Linked DNA regions of Homo sapiens: regions 1 and 3 are each linked to region 2. The links are contacts of gene promoters, found by promoter capture Hi-C in human tissues and cell types (Jung and others, 2019). All regions are on one chromosome and are shown on one strand. The core of a region is centred on a gene start or on the middle of the fragment in contact, and the rest is flanking DNA. Distances in the headings are between cores, read along the strand shown. Region 1 has its middle 53 kb from the start of MRO. Region 2 holds the start of MAPK4 (mitogen-activated protein kinase 4). Region 3 overlaps MAPK4 (mitogen-activated protein kinase 4).

Region 1 (2,700 bases), core at 131-2,630, 210 kb before region 2:
CTTTATGGTGTACTATATGTCATGTAGGCTTTGTTTATTCTTTTTTACTCTTTATTCTCTTTTTCTTGTCTGGGTTATTTAAAAAGAACTGTCTTCAAGTTCTGAAATTCTTTCTTCTGCTTAATCTAGTATATATCAGAAGTTCCAAATGTATTTTAGTTTTTATCTTTGAATTCTTTAGTTCTAGGATTTCTTTTTGATTCTTTTTTATAATATCTATCATTTTGGTAAATTTTCATTCATATCCTGAATTTTCTGATTTCTTTGTATCATTTATCTGTGTTCTTGTATATCTCACTGAGCTGCTGCTGCTGCTGCTTCTAGATAGGCTCTCACTCTGTCACCCAGGCTGGAGTGCAGTGGCATGATCATGGCTCACTGTAGCCTCAACCTCCTGGGCTCAAGTGATCCTCCCACCTCAGCCTCCCAAGTAGCTGGGACAGCAGGTGTGTGCCACCATGCCTGGCTAATTTTTTAAATTTTTTTTTTTTTTAATAGAGACAAAGTTTCACTATGTTGCCCTGGCTGGTCTCTTAAACTCCTGGGCTCAAGCAATCCTCCTGCCTCGGCCTCCCAAAGTGCCAGGATTACAGGCATGAGACACTGTGTCTGGCCTCACTGAGCTTCTTTAATATCATTACTTTGAATTATTTTCCCAGCATTTCATACATTTCTTTTTCATTGGAATCTGTTGCTGGAGAATTATTGTGGTACTTTGGAGGTGTCATATTTCCTTGCTTTTCGATTTCTCTTATTACAGTACCTGTGCATCTGGTGTAACAGTCTCTTCTTCCAATTTTTTGGATTGGCTTTCATAGGGGAATACATTTTCCTAAAGCTGTATCTATGGTGTTGGTCAGGAGGGCATTTTAGCTTTGATTCTGGGTGTGCATAGTAGTGTTGTCTCTGTACAATTTCTTCAGCTGTAAACAGCATCAGTAGTGTCTGTTATTTCCTCAGTGGCTTAGGTTGCAGTTTTTAGTGGAAGGTATGGTGAGGTTTTGCTGGGGACAGGGATGGTGGCCAGTTCTCAGGTCCCAGTGGTCATAGTGGCCGGCTGAGGTTGCCTGTCTTTGGGCCCCTGGGAGGTATACATAGTGTTAACACTGCTAACATTGGTGTTAGCAGGTCCAGGTGGGCTGATTCTTAGGCCTCCAGGTGGATTGTTCAGGTGCTGGCTATGGCAGTGGTGGGCTGGGCAAGTAGGTTATTCCTTAGTCCTCTGGATAGGATGTGTGGGATGAGCAATGGCAGTAGTGTTCGTGGGACAACCTTTGGGCTCCAAACCAGCATGTGCTGTTGTTAGCAGTGGCTGTGATGGGCTGTGCACGCCAGTCCCCAGGTTCCCATGTGGTGCATATGGGTGGGCGCTGGTGGTGATGGTAGCAACAGGCTGGGTGGGCCTGTCTTCTGGCCCCTGGGAGAAGTGCATAGATGCCAGCAGTGGGGGGTGGGATATGATGATCCTCAGGCTTCTGGGCATCATGATTGGGCAAAAGGTGGGGGGTGGCTGGTGCTAGGCCACCTAGGCCTGTCATCTGGCCTTCTAGTGGGGTGCATGGGCACAGGCTGTGGTGGGCAGGGTGGGGCAATCCCCAGGCTCCCTAGTAGCACATTCAGGTGGTGGTGGCAGCCATGATGGTGGACTGGGAGAGTCTGTCTTCAGCATATGTGCACACACACTGCAGCCCTGATGCTGGGGTTGGGGGTTGGGGTTGCTGTCAGTGGGAGTGGTCCCAGGGAGGTGGCTCTCAGACTCTGGGAAGTGTGTGCTTTGGCCCCTGAAGCCTATTAAATTTAAAGGAAACTTTATTGCCAGAAAATATTACAGAGTTGGCAGATAATTCCTAGGTCAATCTTTAAGTTGCTTACAGAGAATAGAATGTTAAACCTGGAGTTCTGGAGGCTGAGAAGTCTAAGATCAAGTTTCTGGCATTTGGTATCTAGTGAGGACCTTCTTGCTGCACCGTCACATAATAGAAACCAGAAGGGCAAAAAGGGATGAACTTTATGTCCTTGCATGGCAGAAGAACAGAAGAGAGCAAACCTACTCTTGCAAGCCCTTTTTATAGCAGCATTAATCCTTTCATGAGGACTCTGTCCTCATGACTTAAACACCTTTCAAAAAGCTTCAAAGCTTCATCTTCTATAACTGCTACATTGGTGATTAAGTTTCCAACACATGAATTTTGGAGGCACAGTCAAATCGTAGCAGGAGTTCCTGCTATTTCTATTCCAGTGACTACCACGTGTGGTTTCCCATTCTCCCTTTCTCAAACTGGAGTTTGAATTGTCATTATCCTGTTCTCCTCACATGAGCATGCTGGGCATGCTCAAGTACTTGACTTACTTTCCAGCCTTCAATCACTGACCTTTTTAGCCAAAGCCTATCGGGGAATTATTCATCTTTCAGAGATGCTGGATTTGGAGGTGGATGAATCAACTTGTTGAACCTTTAGGTGCTTTCTTTTGGGGAATGATATGATTTGGCTCTGTGTTCCCACCGAAATCTCATGTTGAATTGTAATTCCCAGTGTTGGGGGAGGTACCTGGTGGGGGTGGGGCGATTGGATTGTGGGGGATGATTTCTCCCTTGTTGTTCTTGTGATAGTGAGATCTCACAAGATCTGATGGTTTAAAAGTGTGTGGGACTTTCTCCTTCACACACTCTCTCTCCTGCTGCCATGTGAAGATGTGCTT
Region 2 (2,700 bases), core at 35-2,534:
AAGTATATTTTACATTAAGGTTATTTAAGATAGCTGCCTTGCACACAGTAACCTCCCAGTAAATGGCTACTGAGCAGTTGTGGACACTCCTCAACCCAGGCAGGGGTGACATTAATCAACCCCCAGGCACAGATCCATGAATGGAAATGCACGTCTCGAGGTAGTGCTTTCGAGAGTGCTGGAGAGGCGCGTGACAGTACGCGGCCGCTGCGCTCTGTCGGGACGCTGCTGACCCACTGCTGGCTCCAGGGTATCGATTAGCGATCGGAATCCATTCCCCACCCAGGGGCGGGAAACAGCCGCCGCCTCCAATGGTCATTTCGGGGACGCACCTGGAACTCCCGCCACAGCCCCCTCCCGGGGCATCCGCCCACCCCGGCTTCACCTACGATTCCGTAGAGTAGCTGGCAGAACAAAAGCAAAAGCCGGCCTGACTTCCGATTGCTTTCCTGATAGAGAGCAACCCGGGAGGAGGCTCAGGGAGCCGGCCCGGGACCCAGCTGGGATGTCAAACCCGAGCCGCTGCCCTCTCCGGCAGGCTGGGGCTCTGGGTCGCCCAGCGGCGAAAGCGGCGGGGTCCCCCCACTCCCCCTCTCCCAGGGGCTACCTACCGCCAGTGTAGGCGCCTCTGTCGGGTGGCGAGGGGAGAGGACGCTGTATTAACCCTTCAACGAGAAAGGGAGAGGCTGGAGGGGAGGATAATCGGGACTGCGATCCGAATCTGAACTCGCAGTGTGAACTGCCCCTCGGCGACCCCAAGCGCTCCGGACTGTCCCCGGGGGTGGGGTCCCCTAGCGGCGCCCGGCCCCTGCGTCCTCCTCCCCTAAACACAACGCGAGGAGCCCAGCGGCAACCTCCCATCCCAAACGGGTCCAGGACAGCACCGGCGCGCGGTCTGCAGGCGAGGAGCTCACCCAGGGCAGCCGGGCGGGTCCCGCGGGAGACCCCCGCCGCTCGGAAACTCGCTAGTTTGGCAGTGGCTTGGCCTGGGGGGCTTATTGTTAGGGTAAGGTGGGGAGGCAGTGCGGGCGGGGAAGTCTCATCTCTTCCCCGCTTCTCCGGAGCCCGCCGAACTCCGAGAGGCGCAGGCGGCGGGAGGAGAAAGCCAGCGGAGGGGAGCCACTTACCGAGGCAGAGCCCGAGAGCGTGGCGGCCCGGGCGCGAGCCGCCCTTTGTCTGCGGCCGCGGCGCCGGCGCGCTCGGCCAGGCCGGTCCCAGCCACGGCGCACGGCGAGCTCCCGCGGTCGCCCCGACAGCCCGGCTCGCTGCTCCAGCTCGGGCTCCGGCTCCCGCCCCGGCCCCGGCCCCAGCCTGCGCCGCCGCCGCCTCGGCTCCGCCCAGAGCCGGGCCCCGCCCCCGCCCACTGGGCCCCCACCTGCTGCGGCGGTGGCGCTGGGGAGCCGGGCCCTGGGCGCCCGGGGGCGGCAGTCTCCCGCGCGCCCTGCTCTGCCCTCCCGCAGCCTCCAGGCCGCTCAGCCGCGCGGTCCTGGGGCCTTCCCGGACCCAGTCCCGCGGAGACGAGCTCACCTGGGGAGCCGAGCCCCGTCCCGGGTAGCCTGGCCTTCCCGGGGCACACGCGGTAGAGCTCCAGTCACTCAGAAGCCCTTCCTCACGCCCGCCGTGGGTGGGGGATCCTCGGGCTCCGTCCGGGAGGGAGGGGGCGCCGAGAAGGCGGGAAGCGGGGATCTGCCTGAGCCCGGTCGCCGCCCCGCCAGCCCCGCGCGGCTGCAGCCGCCGGGGGCCCGGTGGGAGGGTGGGTGGGGAGAAGGAGCCGGCGGGGACCGGTGGGCTCTGGAACCGGGGAGACCCGCGCGCGCGGGAAGGGGCACTGGGCCGAGGGTCGAGGGGGCGCGGAGCCCAAGTGCACCGGTCCCCAGCCGGCCTGGGATTCCGAGCGGGCCGCCTGGGCTGTGAATCTGTGCTCATTGGCATGACCGGAATAAAACTAACAAAAGAGAACCAACACTTTGGGATCCAGAGGAAAGGGACAGAAGAAGCCACTGGACCCTAACACTGGTAATAACTGGTGCTTCTGTGGTGCCTTCAGCGAGCCCAGAGCTGTGGGCACCGATGAGGGTCGTCACTGAACGCGGTGCGTCCCGTTGGAATGGTTGAGGCGCTGCTTTTCTAGGCATAGAAAAGTCTGATAACCTAAATATTGCATAATGAGGTCACTGGTGGCTTTAGCTGCCCATGAGCCTTCTCCTCTCCCAACTCCCAAAGCCTTCCGAGTGAGACCTGCGTTTTGGCACTTTCATAGGGTCTGCTGTGTACTGCAGTTATTCCCGCTTCGTCCCCCACCTCTACCCCCAGACCCTAATACAATTCCAGACGCTTAATAATTGTTGCAAGAATTCGCTGTCGAATTTTAGCGTGGGCAAAACATAAAAATGAAGGATTGTGGGATCATATTGGAAAATGCACTAAGGGTTTGCACAGTGATGGTGGTATGAAGGGTAATGAGTGTTGGCTGCCATTAGTACATAGTTGCGCTGCGACTCCTATGTGTGCAGGTAGTAGGTTTAGGATGATATGCTAAGTTAGAGACTGCAGTTATCAGGACCTTCATTAACCTCAGAGAATAGTTAGGGATAAGGAAGGAGTGTGTAACAAGCGAGTGTGTGTATATCTGTGGTAAGACATTCCAATGTGTCTTCCCCAAAGAGAACATTTTAACATTTTGCTTCCTTGATTTTCATT
Region 3 (2,700 bases), core at 151-2,650, 150 kb before region 2:
GACTACAAGGTGGTCCAGGTTCCACTTTCCAAGGTGGGTGTGGAGTTTATATAAGTTGATAGCCACTTATGCCTTATCTTGTTCCAACAAAGGATGGGCCAATGTCATTTTTATAAGAGTTTAATTGCTTTAAAAGTCAAGTTTATTGAAGTATAATTTACATAGGGTAAAATTCACCAGTTCTGTGAGTTTTGACAAAAGCATAGTCATGTCACCACCATCACAATCAAGATACGTAACAATTCCATCATCTCAAACAATTTATTCATGCCCTCTTTTGGTCACCCCTAGTCCCAGCCCCTAGCAACTGCTCTTTTCTGTCTCTCTAATTTTACCTTCTGTATAAATGGAATGACAGTATGTAGCCTTTTGAGTCTGAATTCCTTCACTTAGCACAATGCATCTGAGACTCATCCATGGTGTGTGTACAGTAGGCTGTTAGGAATTTAAGTTCGATTCTAAAAGTTACAGGAACAAGCCAAATACTGTCTGTAGAAGTTCATTTTTAGGTGGGTGGGTTCTAAAAAAATAGTCTGGTTTTATTTTCAGTCAGAGGGTGAGATTGTCAGGGAAAAGACTAAAGCAAGAGTACCCAGAGGGGAGGTAGCTTCAGGGGAGTTTTCTCTGATATGTAAATGCACAGTCTTTTATGAAACAGAATGGTCTGGAATTGACATCTGCCTCTCCTCAGAGTCTAGGGTTAAAGAACAGTGGGGACAGGGGGCTTTCTTCTGAAACACTTGCTCTGAAAGTAAAAGAAAGATGTTGACATGGGTAAGGCTGCCCTTGGGCCAGAATTACAGACCAGGTCATGATAGGAGCTAAGAAAGTTGCTTTCCAGCTCTTCCTTTTTTTTTTTTTAATGAAAAACAAGAGCCTGCTGAATTTTTAACTACTAGCTATCTTCCTATGGTTACTTGTTCTTCACACTCTTTAAAAAAACATAAAGTGGATTTTTTGTTTGTTTTTGTTTTCTTTGAGACAGGTTCTCGCATTCTGTCGCCCAGGCTGACATGCAGTGGCGCAACAGTGGCTCACTACAACCTCTGCCTCCCAGGCTCACGGGACCCTCCCACCTCAGCCTCCCAAGGAGCTGGGACCACAGGCGCACACCAACACACCCAGTTAATTTTTGTATGTTTTGTAGAGATGGGGTTTCGTCATGTTGCCCAAGCTAGTCTCAAACTCCTGAGCTCACGCAGTCTGCCTACCTCGGCCTTTCGAAGTGCTGGGATTACAGGCATGAGCCACTGTGCCCGACACTTAAAGGGGATTTGTTGATATGTTTCAGAAGCCACAAGGCTGAGAAGAATTTGGGAAGGTGCAGTGTCTTCTGCCAAGCTGGTGCAAGAGAAGCCCCAGGAAGGGGAGATGGGAATATATGGGAAGCTCCATTCCCAGGTCTGGGGGCAGACACAGTGGACCAGGGCCCTGCTGTCAGCTGAGCTGAGCCCTGGGTGTCCGAATGGGAGAGGCTCTGGGGCCCACAACATGGTACTGGTGATCAGAATTCAAGAGAGGAGTTGCAGTCGAGTGGATGGGGTGAAATTCAGGATAATTTTCTACAAAAAAAAAAAAAAAACTTTAAAGAATACCCAGAAGTCGAGACCCAATTTTATTAAAAGAGCTCATAAATCAATAAGTATATTGGCTCAAAAAAAATCTCCAAATAGCCCTCTGCCCAAGCCTGCAGGGTGAGGATAGTTTCAGCTTCTTTTGGATGTAGAGAGGAACATGTCTCTGTGATCAGACCTGGTCTCCCCAGGCAGGGCATGCCCATGCACAGGGTGGCCAAGGAGGGAGTGAGCAGGACAGCAGGCACACTTGGCGCACAAGTGGGTGCGTCTGCACGCGGCTGTTGCAGGCCAGCTGGGGCCAGCCTCTTGTGTGAGGCTTTGTAACATCACTGCTCTGAGAAGACATGAAGTGCACACTCCCACAGTTCTCTGTGACCACCACTCAGAGCACAAGAAACAAGATGGGAGTGGCCCCTTCCTAATCGTCTATTTCCTCCTGCCACCTTGTGCCCACTGGGAGGCAGATGAACATGGTTTCCTTTCTAGACCCTTTTAAGGGGCCTTGGGACTTTCGTCAGCTATTGCTCCCATCCACCCATTTTGCTGTCCCTTTAGAGTCACGCAGAGCCCATGGGAGGCTTTGACTTTAAAAGCTTCAGAGGTGTTTGGGAAATAATCTAGCAGCAGCTGCCCTGTGAGGAGCATAATTAGGGGCCCCTGAAGGATAGAGAGAAGGTATAATTAAAGCTCTGAGCATTCTCTTTGCAGAGGGAGCAGGGAAGCAGCCCTCGATCCCAGCTGCCTGCCAGGGAATTCAGAACAGCCTGGATCAAAGTCACTCCAGAAGGGTGGGCACTCCCAGCTGCTCCAGCAAGCCCGTGCTGGGTGGGCACCAGTTCTGATCTGGAGCCAAGTCTCCTGTGCCTGCCCTTGCTGTGCCCCCACTGCCTGATCTCTTGCGTGTGGGAGTTGGAAGGTTGGGGGAGAAGGCTCAATCCAATAAACTTTCTACTACACCCTTTAATGATAATGTGCCTACTAATCCCTTAGGGGTATGATGAATTTATTTATTTATTTATTTATTTATTTATTTATTTATTTATTTATTTAGAGACGGAGTCTCACTCTGTCACCCAGGCTGGCGTGCAGTGGCGCTATCTCTGCTCACTGCAAGCTCCGCCTC

The links. The method cuts DNA at HindIII sites, captures the fragments that hold promoters and counts their contacts. A contact is called where the count stands out against the background at its distance.
Region 1: a fragment that was not itself captured here is called in contact with the fragment with the promoter of MAPK4 in region 2 in 3 of the 25 tissues and cell types used here (H1 embryonic stem cells, dorsolateral prefrontal cortex and heart left ventricle).
Region 3: a fragment that was not itself captured here is called in contact with the fragment with the promoter of MAPK4 in region 2 in 1 of the 25 tissues and cell types used here (lymphoblastoid cells).

The regions. Positions count from the first base shown.
Region 1 is chr18:50,766,155-50,768,854 of GRCh38, reverse strand. No RefSeq gene overlaps it. Among named protein-coding and RNA genes, the nearest start is that of MRO, 53 kb to the left of the region's middle. The HindIII fragment of the contact is 5,709 bases long and covers 1-2,700 here.
Region 2 is chr18:50,558,671-50,561,370 of GRCh38, reverse strand. MAPK4 (mitogen-activated protein kinase 4) reads right to left here and starts at 1,284. Exons shown (of 6, transcript NM_002747.4): 1 at 1,128-1,284. The HindIII fragment of the contact is 20,188 bases long and covers 1-2,700 here.
Region 3 is chr18:50,710,707-50,713,406 of GRCh38, reverse strand. The region is part of intron 2 of MAPK4 (mitogen-activated protein kinase 4); the gene reads right to left. Among named protein-coding and RNA genes, the nearest start is that of MRO, 110 kb to the left of the region's middle. The HindIII fragment of the contact is 8,453 bases long and covers 1-2,700 here.